4 separate regions of the Homo sapiens genome follow, and regions 1, 2 and 4 are each linked to region 3. The links are contacts of gene promoters, found by promoter capture Hi-C in blood cells and fetal thymus (Javierre and others, 2016). All regions are on one chromosome and are shown on one strand. Each heading gives the region's core, a stretch centred on a gene start or on the middle of the fragment in contact. The rest is flanking DNA. Distances are from core to core; before and after follow the strand shown.

Evidence for each region. Contacts are between HindIII fragments. The CHiCAGO score rates a contact against its expected background, and 5 or more counts as called.
Region 1: a contact is called between a fragment that was not itself captured here and the fragment with the promoter of CTSO in region 3, in 7 of 17 cell types (naive CD8 T cells, monocytes, non-activated CD4 T cells and 4 more). The highest score is 10.0, in naive CD8 T cells.
Region 2: a fragment that was not itself captured here is called in contact with the fragment with the promoter of CTSO in region 3 in 1 of 17 cell types (monocytes); the score reaches 5.9 in monocytes.
Region 4: a contact is called between a fragment that was not itself captured here and the fragment with the promoter of CTSO in region 3, in 1 of 17 cell types (monocytes). The highest score is 5.4, in monocytes.

The regions. Positions count from the first base shown.
Region 1 is chr4:157,972,037-157,975,593 of GRCh38, forward strand. All of the region lies in intron 2 of LOC105377509 (a long non-coding RNA gene), which reads right to left. Among named protein-coding and RNA genes, the nearest start is that of GASK1B-AS1, 200 kb to the right of the region's middle. The HindIII fragment of the contact is 784 bases long and covers 1,720-2,503 here.
Region 2 is chr4:157,997,162-158,000,358 of GRCh38, forward strand. All of the region lies in intron 1 of LOC105377509 (a long non-coding RNA gene), which reads right to left. Among named protein-coding and RNA genes, the nearest start is that of GASK1B-AS1, 170 kb to the right of the region's middle. The HindIII fragment of the contact is 3,681 bases long and covers 1-3,197 here.
Region 3 is chr4:155,952,103-155,955,483 of GRCh38, forward strand. It overlaps CTSO (cathepsin O), which reads right to left and starts at 1,764. Exons shown (of 8, transcript NM_001334.3): 1 at 1,611-1,764. The coding sequence starts at 1,745. RefSeq lists an enhancer at 2,875-3,169. The HindIII fragment of the contact is 8,738 bases long and covers 1-3,381 here.
Region 4 is chr4:158,183,932-158,187,325 of GRCh38, forward strand. The region is part of intron 2 of GASK1B-AS1 (GASK1B antisense RNA 1); the gene reads left to right. Among named protein-coding and RNA genes, the nearest start is that of GASK1B, 13 kb to the left of the region's middle. The HindIII fragment of the contact is 5,491 bases long and covers 1-3,394 here.

The sequences.
Region 1 (3,557 bases), core at 862-3,361, 2.0 Mb after region 3:
ATCAAGAACTCAGGCCCTCAGTCTCACAGTCTTTGGAAAATTAAATCCTACCACAACCATGATAATAAGCTTGAAAATTAATTTGTCCCCAGTCAAGCCTTCAGATGAGACTCCAACACTGGCCAACACTTGATCACAGCTTTGTGAAAGACCCTGAACAGAGCGTTCGGTTAACCCATTCCCAGATTCCTAACCCTCAGAAATTATGAGAATGAATTTGTGTTGCTTTTAGCCAATGAGTGGTAATTTGTTATACAGCAATAAGAAACTAATTGGAAAAATGCCCATATATTTTACTTATTTCATAATTTTACTCGTGACCAGCCTTGCTTTGTGGTTATATTAACGCATTAGGAAATATGTTGGGGTGAATAAAAAGTGAATAATTTACCCTTCTCTTTTTTTTCTATCAATCCAGAAAGTATTATCAATTATTTTATCAATTTATTTTTATAAATCACAGTAATGTCACTCCTTTTCTGTTTTTTAATTCCATTTGTAAAGCTATATCTTATAGAAGATTATAATTCTTAAAATCATGTTTATAAATAAGCTATTTTCCAGATGTTCCAATAAGACCCTTGAATATCTGGGTAAAAAGGAGATTAAAGGCTGGTAGTCAGAGGACAGAAGAGCAAAATATAAAGGAACATGAACTAAAATTAACGGCATGCTTCTTTTCCCTCTACTTTCACAGACTTTCATTAATGTAAATAAGAAAGTGTTTTCAGCTTCTTTTAAATAAAGATATTGGTCTATAAAAATAATTATATTTCTTTGATAATTAATACAGTCTTTGAGTCCTAATATTACCACTGGAAACTCTTTTTTGCAATGCAGCATAATTGAAGCATGCATGTTGTTAAATCTGCAGGAGGTTAGTTATTTTATTATCTAATACTGTTCATTATACATACTATACTTCTGAAAAAATGGTTATGTTGTCTGCTTCTGTAATACTTTTTCCAAAAGTTAGTTTTTTGTTTTTGGTTTTTGGTTTTGGTCTTTTGTTTTTGTTTTTGTTTTTTTTTTTTTTTTGAGATGGAGTTTCACTCTTGTCGCCCAGGCTGGAGTGCAATGGCGCAATCTCGGCTCACTGCGACCTCCACCTTCCAGGTTTAAGCGATTCTCCTGCCTCAGCCTCCCCAGTAGCTGGGATCACAGGCATGTGCCACCACGCCCACCTAATTTTGTATTTTTAGTAGAGACGGGATTTCTCCATGTTGGTCAGGCTGGTCTCGAACTCCTGACCTCAGGTGATCTGCCCACCTTAGCCTCCCAAAGTGCTGGGATTACGGGCGTGAGCCACCCCGCCTGGCCGAGACTTCTTAAATTATATTCCTTGCAGCTGGCCTCCAGTGTGTCATTGGAATCCTACCTTCTACCTAGTTCATACTATTTTACTGCTTCTCTCTGACTTCTTCGGTCTTTTTACAACAGACTTCAGATTGCAATGCAGTTAAAATTAATTACTTAGCCAAACAAGATAGGAGTTTGACTCTGTGTTCTTTGCTCTCCTTTTCAGCCTCTGTGGAAGACTTGATAACTTCTGTGCTCTAGAAACTTCTAATTGAGCATGAAGAAAGCTGGTAAATCACTGCACTGTAGCAACAGCAATCCAGTGTTTTCTCTGCCTAATGATCCTAAAGCTGATTCAATATATGTTCGTCATCAGAAATCTTTACAATGTTCAAGGCATATTTATCAGAATTTGGAATAAGCTTGCACAAATTCCCTCTTGCAACATTCTATAGCTTAGCTCAATTCCTTTCTCTTTGTATAGATCAGTGAAGCGCCAGAAGATTTACTATGAGTAAACAACTTTAGATATAAGATTTGCAGGACTTTAATATCAGACACCTGCTGGTCATATAATTGAAATTATCTACACTGAAGTAGAAACTAGTTTACCAATTATGTTTCTTTTTATGGTCCCAAACCTCATACTCATCTATATCTATATTACTAGTTTGCTAGCTAGCAATTTCTGCTACTCATTATTTCTATCCTGCTACTTTCATAAAAGTTTGGATTGATTTCAGAGCAGTTACACCAACAAATAATGATAAAGTAGAAATATGTGCATTGGGCAGCTTCTGAGATTGAATGTGCTCACTAAATCTTTGTAGAAATCTTCCTGGATTACCTATCTACCCTTCCAATTATTCTCTATTACTGCACCTGTAACTTTTCAAAACCCAGGATTACAACAGTTATTTATCTGCCAAATTTTGTGTCTCCCCTTCAATGTAAGTGCCATAAGTACAAGGACTCTGTGTGTAGGTATGTGTGAGCTATTCACAATTATAATGGAACAGTGAGAATAAGTCACTAAAGATATCAGTGTCTGGCATGTAATAATAACAGCAGATCAGTCAATATGTTATTAAATATTTAAACTATGGGGAAATGGGAAAAGAGAAGGCTATTGCCTAGGTAAATATCAGTGCCATGATGATGGGCCATGGTAGCTTGTTTCACTGGCACATGTTTCATTGAACCAAGCTTCTGCAAAGGCTTGGTCTCAGCACCTGGAAAAGCAGTCAATTGAAAAGATATAGTGGTGGTGTGGGTGCTGCAGGAGATGTCACTCTAGAGCTTGCAAACAGCAAATGGCACCACTGAGGCATCCATGCCACGTTACCTGGTACTCAGATTCACTGACAATAGAAAACCTTCATAAAATCACATCTAGAGTCTCCAAGGTTAGCAGTAGAAGATGAGTAATAACATGGAAGTTAAGATTTTATTTTCCTAACAGAAATCATCAAGGAAGTTCTGAGGTTGAAGAGATATTCTTAAGAGACAAATATATCTCCATGAAAAAAAATAAGACTTTGAGGCCCATTTCCTCTTCCTGTCTCTGCTGCAAACCTTGATGATTAAAATATTTAGGAAGTAAAAGATTTCACGACTGTGAGACTTCTTGATGACCTATGAAATCAAGAGCTCCGAGAGCTAAAGAAAATTTAAAAATCATGTCTTGCATCACCTGAAGGGTGTCCTCCCCACCCTTTAACCCTCAATCAGATCTTGAATGCTAGCTAGAGTTTTAAAAATTGGTGGATGGAGCTGTGTGTTGTTTCATCATTTGCACCCCAACTGTATATCCATCTGATGAAGCTTGGAAAATATACTTGTTAAAAAAAAGAATTAAATCAAGAGACACATAAAATAAAATAGCAGAAGGCCAGGATAGAGAACAGGTAAAAGCAATTGTTGCAATGCCTATATAGTTTTTACGGCTGCAATACAAATATGTCTCCGAGCTTCCAAACAGCTAAAAAAAAAAAAAAAAAAAAAAAAAACCTGTCTTTTTGAGAAATAAAAATAACTCTTAAGAAAAAACTGTCTTCCAAACACTTAATTTTATGTAACATATTCATGGAACAAAATAAAATAAAAATCTTACCCTTTGCTTTATTTACTGACTTTCAACTGTTTATACTAATCCTATTTTTTCATTGAATTATTCATCTAAAAACAAAAGTAAATTGACAATTACTACCCAAATTTGACTTAGGTAAAATCAATACATGCTAACAAATAACTATGCC
Region 2 (3,197 bases), core at 580-3,079, 2.0 Mb after region 3:
ATTTTGCCAGTTGTATTATTCCAAATGTGAAAATTATAGCTCAGATAATGAGGGAGTCAGTTATCCCTTCCAAAAGTTTCTTTAAAAACCATATATGTACCTCCTTTTGAAGGGTGATAAACAACTTTTCATCCAGGGCTATATGAACCGCTAGTGGGAGGTTAGTTTTAAATATCTGAAAGTCTCTCATGATTATCTCATGAAATAGAACATGTAAGTTAATATGTAGCAAGCTGAAAGGCATCACCTAGGGAGACTGTAGCTAGAGAAGACAAAAGGACCCAAAGGCATTTCAATATTTAAGTTAGATAAGGAGGAAGGGACAGCAAAGTAGGTAGAGGAAAAGTCCCTGGTGAATTAGGTAAAAAAACAAATAAATCAGGAGGATACAGTGCCCAAGAAACCACAGGAGGAAAGATTCTCAAGGAAGATAGATTGAGTGTAGGGTCAAATGCTGCTCCAAATCAAAATAAGGAAGAATACAGAAGAGGTCACTGGGTTCTGCAAAAGAAAAATCACTGGTCCCCTTAACAACAAACATTTCAGTGGACTTGGGGTGACAAGAGCTACTCTTGAGTGACTGCAACAATAAGCAGCTAAAAAATGTAATTTTTTAAAACTCTGGGTAGCATTAAATTACAAATAAATCTAATAAGAACTCCAGGAAGTCTAGACTCATAAAATAATAATAAAACTACCTAAGTTTTAAAAGAGTAAACAGTTTAAATTTTTTATTGTGCTTTGATGAAATGACTCATTATAAATATATCTATTACCCTAAGATAATTTATTCATTTAACTCAATACAAATGAATTTATTCCAGAGTTTTTCATAAAACTTTGTTGTTGTTGTTGTTGTTGTTGTTATTTTTATTTTAATTTCAGGGGATATACGTATGGGTTTGTTACATGGATATGTTACATGATACTGGAGGTTGGGCTCCTACTGAACCCGTTACCCAAACAGAGAACACAATACCCAATAGGTAATTTTCAATCCTTGCCACCTTCCCTCCCTCCCTCCTTTTGGAGTCCCCAGTGTCTATTATTTCCATCTTTGTGTCCGCATGTACCCGGTGTTTAGCTCCCACTTATAAGTGAAAACATGTGGTATTTGATTATCTGTTCCTGCTCAAATTCACTTAGGATAATGGCCTGTAGCTGCAGCCATGTTGCTGCAAAGGACATAATTTTATTTTTTTAATGGCTGCATAGTATTCTATTATGTATGTGTACCACAATTTCTTTATCCAGTCCACTGTTGATAGGCACCTAGGATGTTCCATGATTTTGCTATTGTGAGTAGTGCTGTGGTGAACATACGAGCGCTGGTGTCTTTTTGGTAAAACAATTTCTTTTCCTTCAGGTAGATACCCAGTAAGGGAATTGCTGAGTTGAATGGTGGTCTTATTTTTAGTTCTTTGATAAATCTCCAAACTGCTTTCCAAAGGGGCTGAACTAATTTATCTTTCCACCAACAGTGAATAAGCATTCACTTTTCTCCACATCCTAGTCAGTATCTGTTGATTTTTAACTTTTAATAATAACCATTCTGACTGGTGTGAGATGGTATATCATTGTGGTTTTGATTTGTATTTCTCTCATGATTAGGAATGTTATGAATTGATTCTAAAGTCTACAAAGAAAAAATAAACGTGTAATAATATCCAAGAAAATATGAAGCAGAAGAATAATAAGCAAAGGCTAGCTATACAAGAAAAAAAAATGTTCTAAAACAATAGGAAATACTAGCACTGGCCACAAATAGTCAATATAACCAAAAAGTCAGATATAGTCTTAAATATATATGGGTTGTTAGTTACTGGTGAAAGTGGCATTCTAAATCCATGGGTATTGAGAGGCAGACAGGGGGAGGTGTGTGGATCAAATAATTCTGGAATAATTGGGTAGCATCTAGGGAAAACGAATGAGCTAGATTCTCTCTCTTGCTTCTTAAATACATTTCAGAAGGACCAATGTTTTCAAAGTGTAAAAACCGAACTATAAAATTGAAAGGAAATGAAAGAAAAACATTGGCAAACCTTCTCATATACTTGATAGTGTAAGGTATTTATAAGCATGATGTAAAAACTTTCAAAACATGGTGCAAAACTATTTAAAAATGTATAAATTTGAGTCCATCAAAATTAAGTTTTAAACTTAATAAATTTAAGAAAAAGAAAAAAATTTACAAACTTACTAGCTTAAATATTTTAGTAATCCAGCTGCTGAAATGTTTATTTTCTTAACATATATATATACATTGCCCATACAAACTAATGAGAAAATTATAAACAAACCAATGTAAAAAAAATGGGCAAAGACATGAATTCAGAAATAAAAAGAAACGCAAAGCCTTTTAAAATTTGAAAATATGATCAGCCTCAGTCATAATAAAATGAATGTAAATTATAATTGCATTTGGATATCAAGTTTTCAAATACTGCATTTGGCAAAAAGCAAAATTCTCTTACTACACTGTATTAGTGAAGGTGTGGAGAATCAAGCACTCTTATACAGTACTGGTATAAATTTAAGTTAGTAAAACATCTGGAAGGCAATTTTCCAACATTTACCAAAATTATAAATAAACATATCCTTTGGATTCAATAATCCCACTTTTAAGAGTGTATCCCATAAATACATGGCATAAAAATATAATTACAAAGATTTTCCCAGCCGTATTTTCTGTGTTAGCAAGAGATTGCAAGCATTATAAATCTTCATTGTAGGGAACTGTGTAAATACATTTATGTGACAGCAAGCCCAGAAGTGGTTAAAAGGAATGAGACATACCTGTGTACACTTCATGAAAGATCTCCTTGATAAGTGGAAAAGCAAAGCATACTTTAATCTATGCAAAAAAAAATCACTTCAACTTGGAGAAATCTTAGTATTGGGGATTGATGATAGAAGGGTGCTAACATTCTGTACTGCTCAAATTTTTTAAGACAGTCATATATTGCCTTCTCAAAAAACTACATTAAAATTATTTAAGTAGGACAAAAAGTGAATGCAAAGGAATAAAATGAAGGCGACGAGTGAGGACAATTATATGTCCTGTTGCTGAGAAGGATGCAGAGAAATTAATGCGTGATCAAAATTTTGTTATTTTTGTTGGGACTGTCCGTTGCTCTTTATAGAGAAAAAGTTCGAAGACACCCTGAGAGTCTGACTACGCATCAGTCAGATTGAAC
Region 3 (3,381 bases), core at 514-3,013:
AATTCTTACAGGCAGCAATTGCTTTGAAAATTTTTTCAGTATTTCTTAACCCGAGGTTTTTAAAATGTACTAAGAGTCTTCATAATTCGATCCTCCTCCACTTCCAACTTTCCATCTTTCAACCTGTTTCTTTGTATTTCTCCTGAGAAAAGTTACATTTTCTAGACATTCATCAGGGTATGGCCTCTTTACAGGACCAGTATGAGTCACTACATAAATTATACACATATATATTTATAAATTATCTAAAATCTAAATAAATGTTAAAAATATATTTATAAGTCTAGCCCTTTGAGCTTTGTCCTGAAATATTATTTTTAGGAGCCTGACAGTGTGTTTATTTATTTAGCCAATGAATACGTTACCAATAAAGGTGAAACTGACTTTTCCCCTAAGGGGTTTCGTTTACCAGGAAAACGAACGTAAGTTGAGGATAGGGGTAGAATACAGGCCAGAATTTTGTTCTTGAAAGAGTAAGAGGACTTCTGGTTTTGAAAGCTAGAACTGAACTCAAGAATAATAAAGTGGAGATAACAGTACACATCTCGGTTTGGACAAAACGTAAGAGTGGACAGAATCAGGGAAGGCTGGCCTTCCTAAACATTGGAGCTTTCCAGGAGAGTCGGGGGAAAAGAGCACAGCTATGAAATCCTGTGAGAAATTCCAACAAACACCAGGAAAAAAGATACACTTCCTTGAGCAATATTACTCAACTCAGACTTATGTTTGATTCAGAATGAAAGAATTTTCTTTTCCAATAAATTAAATCATGATAATGGCATCTTTCATGAATTTAAAAATGTGTTAAATAGTATCAGCTATCTAGAACATAGTGAGGCGAACACTAAATCGGCATCCCTTGCAGTTTCCTTGGTTTCAGGAAAATCATTATTTGTGCTCAGCTAACTGGTCCCTTCCAGAGTTTTCATGCTAGACTCAAATCTAAGTATTTATTATAAATATTATAAAATATAAATTATATTATATTTCGTATAATAATATGAAAAGGAAATTAAATGCTTCTCTTTTCTTCAACTCAGTCTCCGCCAAGGCAGGAAGAACTTTTAAAGTGGTGCGTTAGTTTAAGGAGAATCATAAACCATCAGGATTCTTTAATCTGGCTAAAGACAGGCTCTTTGTTTCTAACTTCTGATCACTAGCGCCCTCCTCGGGAAAAAAAAACACGACAGGTTTCTTCCACCAACAGGCTGCTCCCTGTTTCTGGTTCTCATAAAAGAGAAATAGAAGAGCTTTGGAAGCCAGTGGCAACGATAGAGGGGATTGCTAAAAGGGGGTGCTTCTTCCCACCAAGGACACTTTGGACGTATCTATGGATTTATTTGGGTGCGTCCCAAAAATCCATAGCGACAAATCTCTTCTGGAAAATCAAGTCTTTTGGTTAGCAAAGGCATGGGGGAGTGACACCATGGCACAAGGAGAGGGGAGAGAGAAGCTGGCTTTTGCACCCGCAGCTCAGGGCCCCAGACGCATCGCAGAGCCACGGGTGCCCACGAGCAGGGTCAGCTCTCGGGGGCCCTCTTCCGCAGCCCAGACCCGGGACAGGAAGTGAGGGAGCAGGGACAGATCCCGGGGAGGCGCGCGCTCGGTACCCGGAAGGCGGCGGCTTCACGCTCGCGGCTCCGCGGCCAGGTCGGGGTGAAGGGGGCGCGGGAGTCCGCATCGCCGCCGCCCCGGCACAGCAGCCACAGCAGCCACGGCAGCCACGGCAGCGCCCGCACGTCCATTGCGGCGCCCGGCTCCTCTGCCGCCCGCGCGGCCTGTTTTCTCTTTCGGTTCCTCGGCTCCTCCCAGCCTGGGCTCGAGGGGCGGAAGGAGCTGGGTTGAGTGCACGATGCTGAGATTGACCCTTTTTTAGGTCCCCGGTGTTCTGTGACTGAAAATCCGGTCAGCTGGAGGCTACGGACCTCCTTGCTGAGGCTAGTTTTTTTGTTTTTGTTTTTGTTTTGGAAGAGTCAGGCACTTGACCATGTGCTTTCGAGGTTTCACTTCCATCCATTAGAAAAAAAGAAGCCTGAGAGTCATTCTTTTGTGTGTGTTGAGATCAGGTCTCACTGCAGCCTCGACCTTCAGGTTCAAGTGCCTCCTGCCTCAGCCTCCGGAGTACCTGGGACTACAGGCGCGTGCCACCACCCCAGGCTATTTTTGTATTTTTAGTAGAGATAGGATCTTGCCATATTGCCCAGGCCGGTCTCGAACTCCTGGACTCTAGTGATCCACCCGCCTTGGCCTCCCAAAATGCTCACAGGTGTGAGCCACCTGGCCTGCCCTGTGAGCCACCGGAAGCTGCCTTTTTCCTTCTTGCCACAATCCCTAAGTTCAAGACCTAGTTCTGAAGTGATGTGGGCCAATACATAGAGTCATCCATTCAGCAGATGTTTATAAATACGTAACAAAATTGTACAGATGTGAAAAGCATACACAGTTTTTGGATCTATTATGGCAGTTTCAAAACTCTTGAAGCCTGTTTCTCCGTTTGCAAAGGAAGATAGAGCCAAGTACATAATTTGCAGGGTTCCGTGTAAACTGAAAATGAAGTTCCCTTGTTCATAAATTGTGAAGAATTTCAAGACGGCAACAGCAGAGCATTAACCCAAGCCATGGGCCTTCTAAGCACCCACTTCTGCACAGGTCACACACTCATGAACCTGGCTCTACCGAGCCTTTCTATTATCATCTATTCTGAACAAGGCTTCCATGTCTGTGAAATTCATATCATTACCCTTGTAGATTTTTAGAACTAACATCAGATTTATGTCTTTAGTTTTTACCTAGGTGCAGTGAGTTACAATATTCTCCAATGCAAACTTCGTAATAAAAATAAAAATAATGTTCCGAGTATTAAGAGGAAAGACACAAGAGTTTTTTATGTACGTTCATGATAAGATATATTGCTCTTGGCAAGTGTGGTGATAAAGATTTTATTTAAATCATAAGTTCACAGAACGATGTTCATGTTTACCTCAGCAGTTCTTTTGTACTTAGCCCTTTTTTGTGACTCATACAAGCACATACTTTTCTTTTTAAACTGAACTTTGCTTTCAGATCATAGTCCCTGTTTATTGACAACCTACGGAGTCAGGAAATTTAAATATAGGCAGTCATCTTTACTTTAGGATAATTGGTATTGTAAAAAAGCCCCTTGAACTAAACTCATTTCAGGAGCTCACATCAAGTATTTATTGAGTACCTGCTAAGTGTCAGGCATTCTTCTAGGTAATGAGGATATATCAAGTAAGTGGATAAGTGACTAAAGGGATGAAAATCCCCATCCCTATGGGACTGATATTTCAATTGATTTACATCAACAAATATTTTATTGAGTACTTCCTAAGTGTCAGGCATTGTTCTAGGTCATCAGGA
Region 4 (3,394 bases), core at 78-2,577, 2.2 Mb after region 3:
TTCCCCAGATTGAAAATCTATTTTAAGTCAATATTTTAAAGAAATATGAAGCCATAACAAAAGCTACCATTATTTTTGCTCTGAAGTGCTAGTTAATGAATGCAAAGAAGATAGATTTAGAACTATTCATCATTTAATGTTTAATGAAATTTATTTTCAGTATATTTTATATGGGTTTTTTTACCTCCTCTAAAGAGGAATAATGTTTATTGATTAAAAGTGAAAAATAATGGTTTAGACACCAATTCTTTTTCAAGATCTTTGACTATATTACGCATTGTACAATGGATTTTATTCTTCATGAAATTTTTTAGTTTCCCTACTGGTAAGATAGAGATAATGACTTAGAGAGAGTTCTACAGGATACTCAGACTTTAAAATACTTAGATTGATCGATAAAAGAAAGTAAAGCAAAAGATAAGGAGTGGGAGAATTTCAACAGAAAATTAGAAGCTATAAAAAATCAGTGGGACCAGGCACAGTGGCTCATGCCTGTAATCTCAGCACTTTGGGAGGCCGAGGCAGGTGGATCACAAGGTCAGGAGTTTGAGATCAGCCTGACCAACGTGGTGAAACCCCATTTCTACTAAAAATACAAAAATTAGCCAGGCATGGTGGTGCGCTCCTGTAATCCAAGCTACTCAGGAGGCTGAGGCAGGAGAATCGCTTGAACCCAGGAAGTGGAGGTTGCAGTGAACCGAGATCATGCCACTGTACTCCAGCCTGGGTGAGAGAGTGAGACTCTGTCTCAAAAAAAAAAAAAAAAAAAAAAAAAATTAAGTGGACATTCTTAGTCTGAAATTTTTTAGAAATCTGAAATTTAAAAAAATTTATTTGGTTTTAAAGGCAGATAGAACAAAGCAGAACACGAGGTTTATGAAATTAAAAACAGGTCCCTAGAAAATATTAAATATAAAGGCAAAGTGTTAGAAAAATAAATAGAAAAAAATTAAAACCAAGTGTTTAAGATATGTATTGGACACAGTTAAAAAATCAAACATAGGTGTAACTAGATGACCCAAAGAAAAGAGAAAGACATGGTGGCAGAACAATATTTTAAAAGATGATGATAGAATTTTCAAACTCAAAAAACTTATCAACCCAAAGATTAAGTAAGATCACTGAATTCAATACAAGATATGTACAAGGAAATTATCAATAAGCACCTCATAGTTCACGTATTAAAAAAACAAAATATATACAATTGAAAAGAGAATTTATAAACTAAAAGGTAGGTCAGAAGAAAATACCCAAACGGACACACGGACAGTTAAGAGGATGGAGAATCCAGAAAGGGCATGAGAAACTTATCAGATATAATTAAAAGGTTTACTCAAGGTACAGAAAGAAAGGAGAAGAAAATGGGACTAAAACAATATTTGAAGAGAAAGTAGCCAAGAATTTTTCAGATTTAAGAAATGCTACAAACCTCCAGAAGGATAAACACATTTCCATTTTATAAGAAGCAAGCAATATAAGGTTTGGATAATTGAGGTTTCATTGTATTTTTATGGAATATTAGAACTGGAAGAGACCTAAGAGATAAACTAAATATAACCCACTGATTTTATAGAAGCAGCAGCTTGAGGGGCCTACCAGTAAATAACTTGAGAGTCAGACAGAATCAGAACTCTTAAATTCAAATTAAGTGATATTTTCACTATACAAGACTTTCTCTCCTATTTAATTTTCTTAAATTAAATCAACAGCTTTCTCAGAAGATATAGAGCATTCTATCATTTTAAATATAGATTTTCCTAAACTACTTTTTAAATCTTTCTTGTTGACTTTCATAATGTCAGGCATATTGATAGTGAGAAAGAGTAATGTTAGTCACTTGTTCAAGGTCACATGTTAGAGGCAGATGAGGGACTAAAATTCAGGTCTCTGAGCTTTCAAGTGCGGAGTGTTTTCCACATGTATTTTTTTTTTTTAGATGGCATTTGAGCACTGCAACTGAAAGCAAAAACTACTGTTCTTTCACCTTCATTTTTAGCTTTAGCTATTATTTGTTGGGTGATCCATACAATTTTGTTTGTTTGTTTGTTTTGTTTTGTTTTGAGACAGAGTTTTGCTCTTGTCATCCAGGCTGGAGTGCAGTGGCATGATCTTGGCTCACTGCAACCTCCACCTCCTGGGTTCAACCAATTCTCCTGCCTCAGCCTCCTGAGTAGCTGGGATTACAGGTGCCTGCCACCTCACCCCACTAATTTTTTGTATTTTTAGTAGAGACAGAGTTTCGTCATGTTAAGCAGGCTGGTCTGGAACTCCTGACCTCAGGTGATCTGCTCGCCTCGGCCTCCCAAAGTGCTGGCATTACAGACGTGAGCCACCGCACCCGACCAATCCATACAATTTCTAATCCAATTCTCTGTATTATGTGAAAGGGGAGTGGAGGAGTACAGGAGAGAATGGAGAAAGCAACTATGATTTGATAGCAAACTTATACCTTTTGTCTACCTAACATTTTTTCCTCATTTCTTCTAGTAATAGACCCCATCACTGTCCTGGATGTAAGAATGAATACATGGCTAAGCTATGGCAAAAACAGTATATCTCCTTGTTAGGACAGCAATTGGCCCACAGTTGAGAACTTTACTCAAGGTGGGAATATTAGCCTTCTTCCAGGACTTTTACATTGAGAACATTTAATCTCTAGTCATGAAGCAATGAGTTTATGATCCCAGGAAGAGGGATGGTGCACATCATTTCAGCCAGCTTGAGAAAATGAAGTCACTGTTTAGAAAGATTCACAGGAGGAGAAGGAAGAGAATAATACAGATTAGAGCCTCTAGTTCGATGTTCCATCATCCCTGTCCTTACCATAATTAATGTGCCAATAAATTTACCCTTTTGCCTAATAAGCTCAAATTGAGTTTTAATCACTTTCATTTCAAAGATTTTTTATTGATGCAGAGATTTGTACAGATGGTCCCCAAGTTATGGCTCAACTTACAATTTTTCAACTTTACAGTGATGCAAAAGCTACATGCATTCAATAGAAACCACACTTTGATCTTTTCCAAGGCTATAGATATGAGATGATAATCTCCCGTGATGCTGGGCGGCAGTAGTGAGCCACAGCTCCAAGTCATGTGACCATGAGGACTGAAAAATGATACTGTACTCTATCATGTACTATACACAATAAATTACATGATATATTCAACACTTTATTATATAATAATCTTAGGGTTAGATGATTTTGCCTGACCATAGGCTAATGTAAGTTTTCTGAGCATATTTAAAGTAGGGTAGGCTAAGCTATGATATTTGGTAGGCTAGGTGTATTAAATGCATTTTCAATTTAGAATATTATGAATATATAATGGATTTATCAAAGAGGTAAGTCTAGGAGTATTTATACTTAGAACTGAAATCTTGTCAATTACAG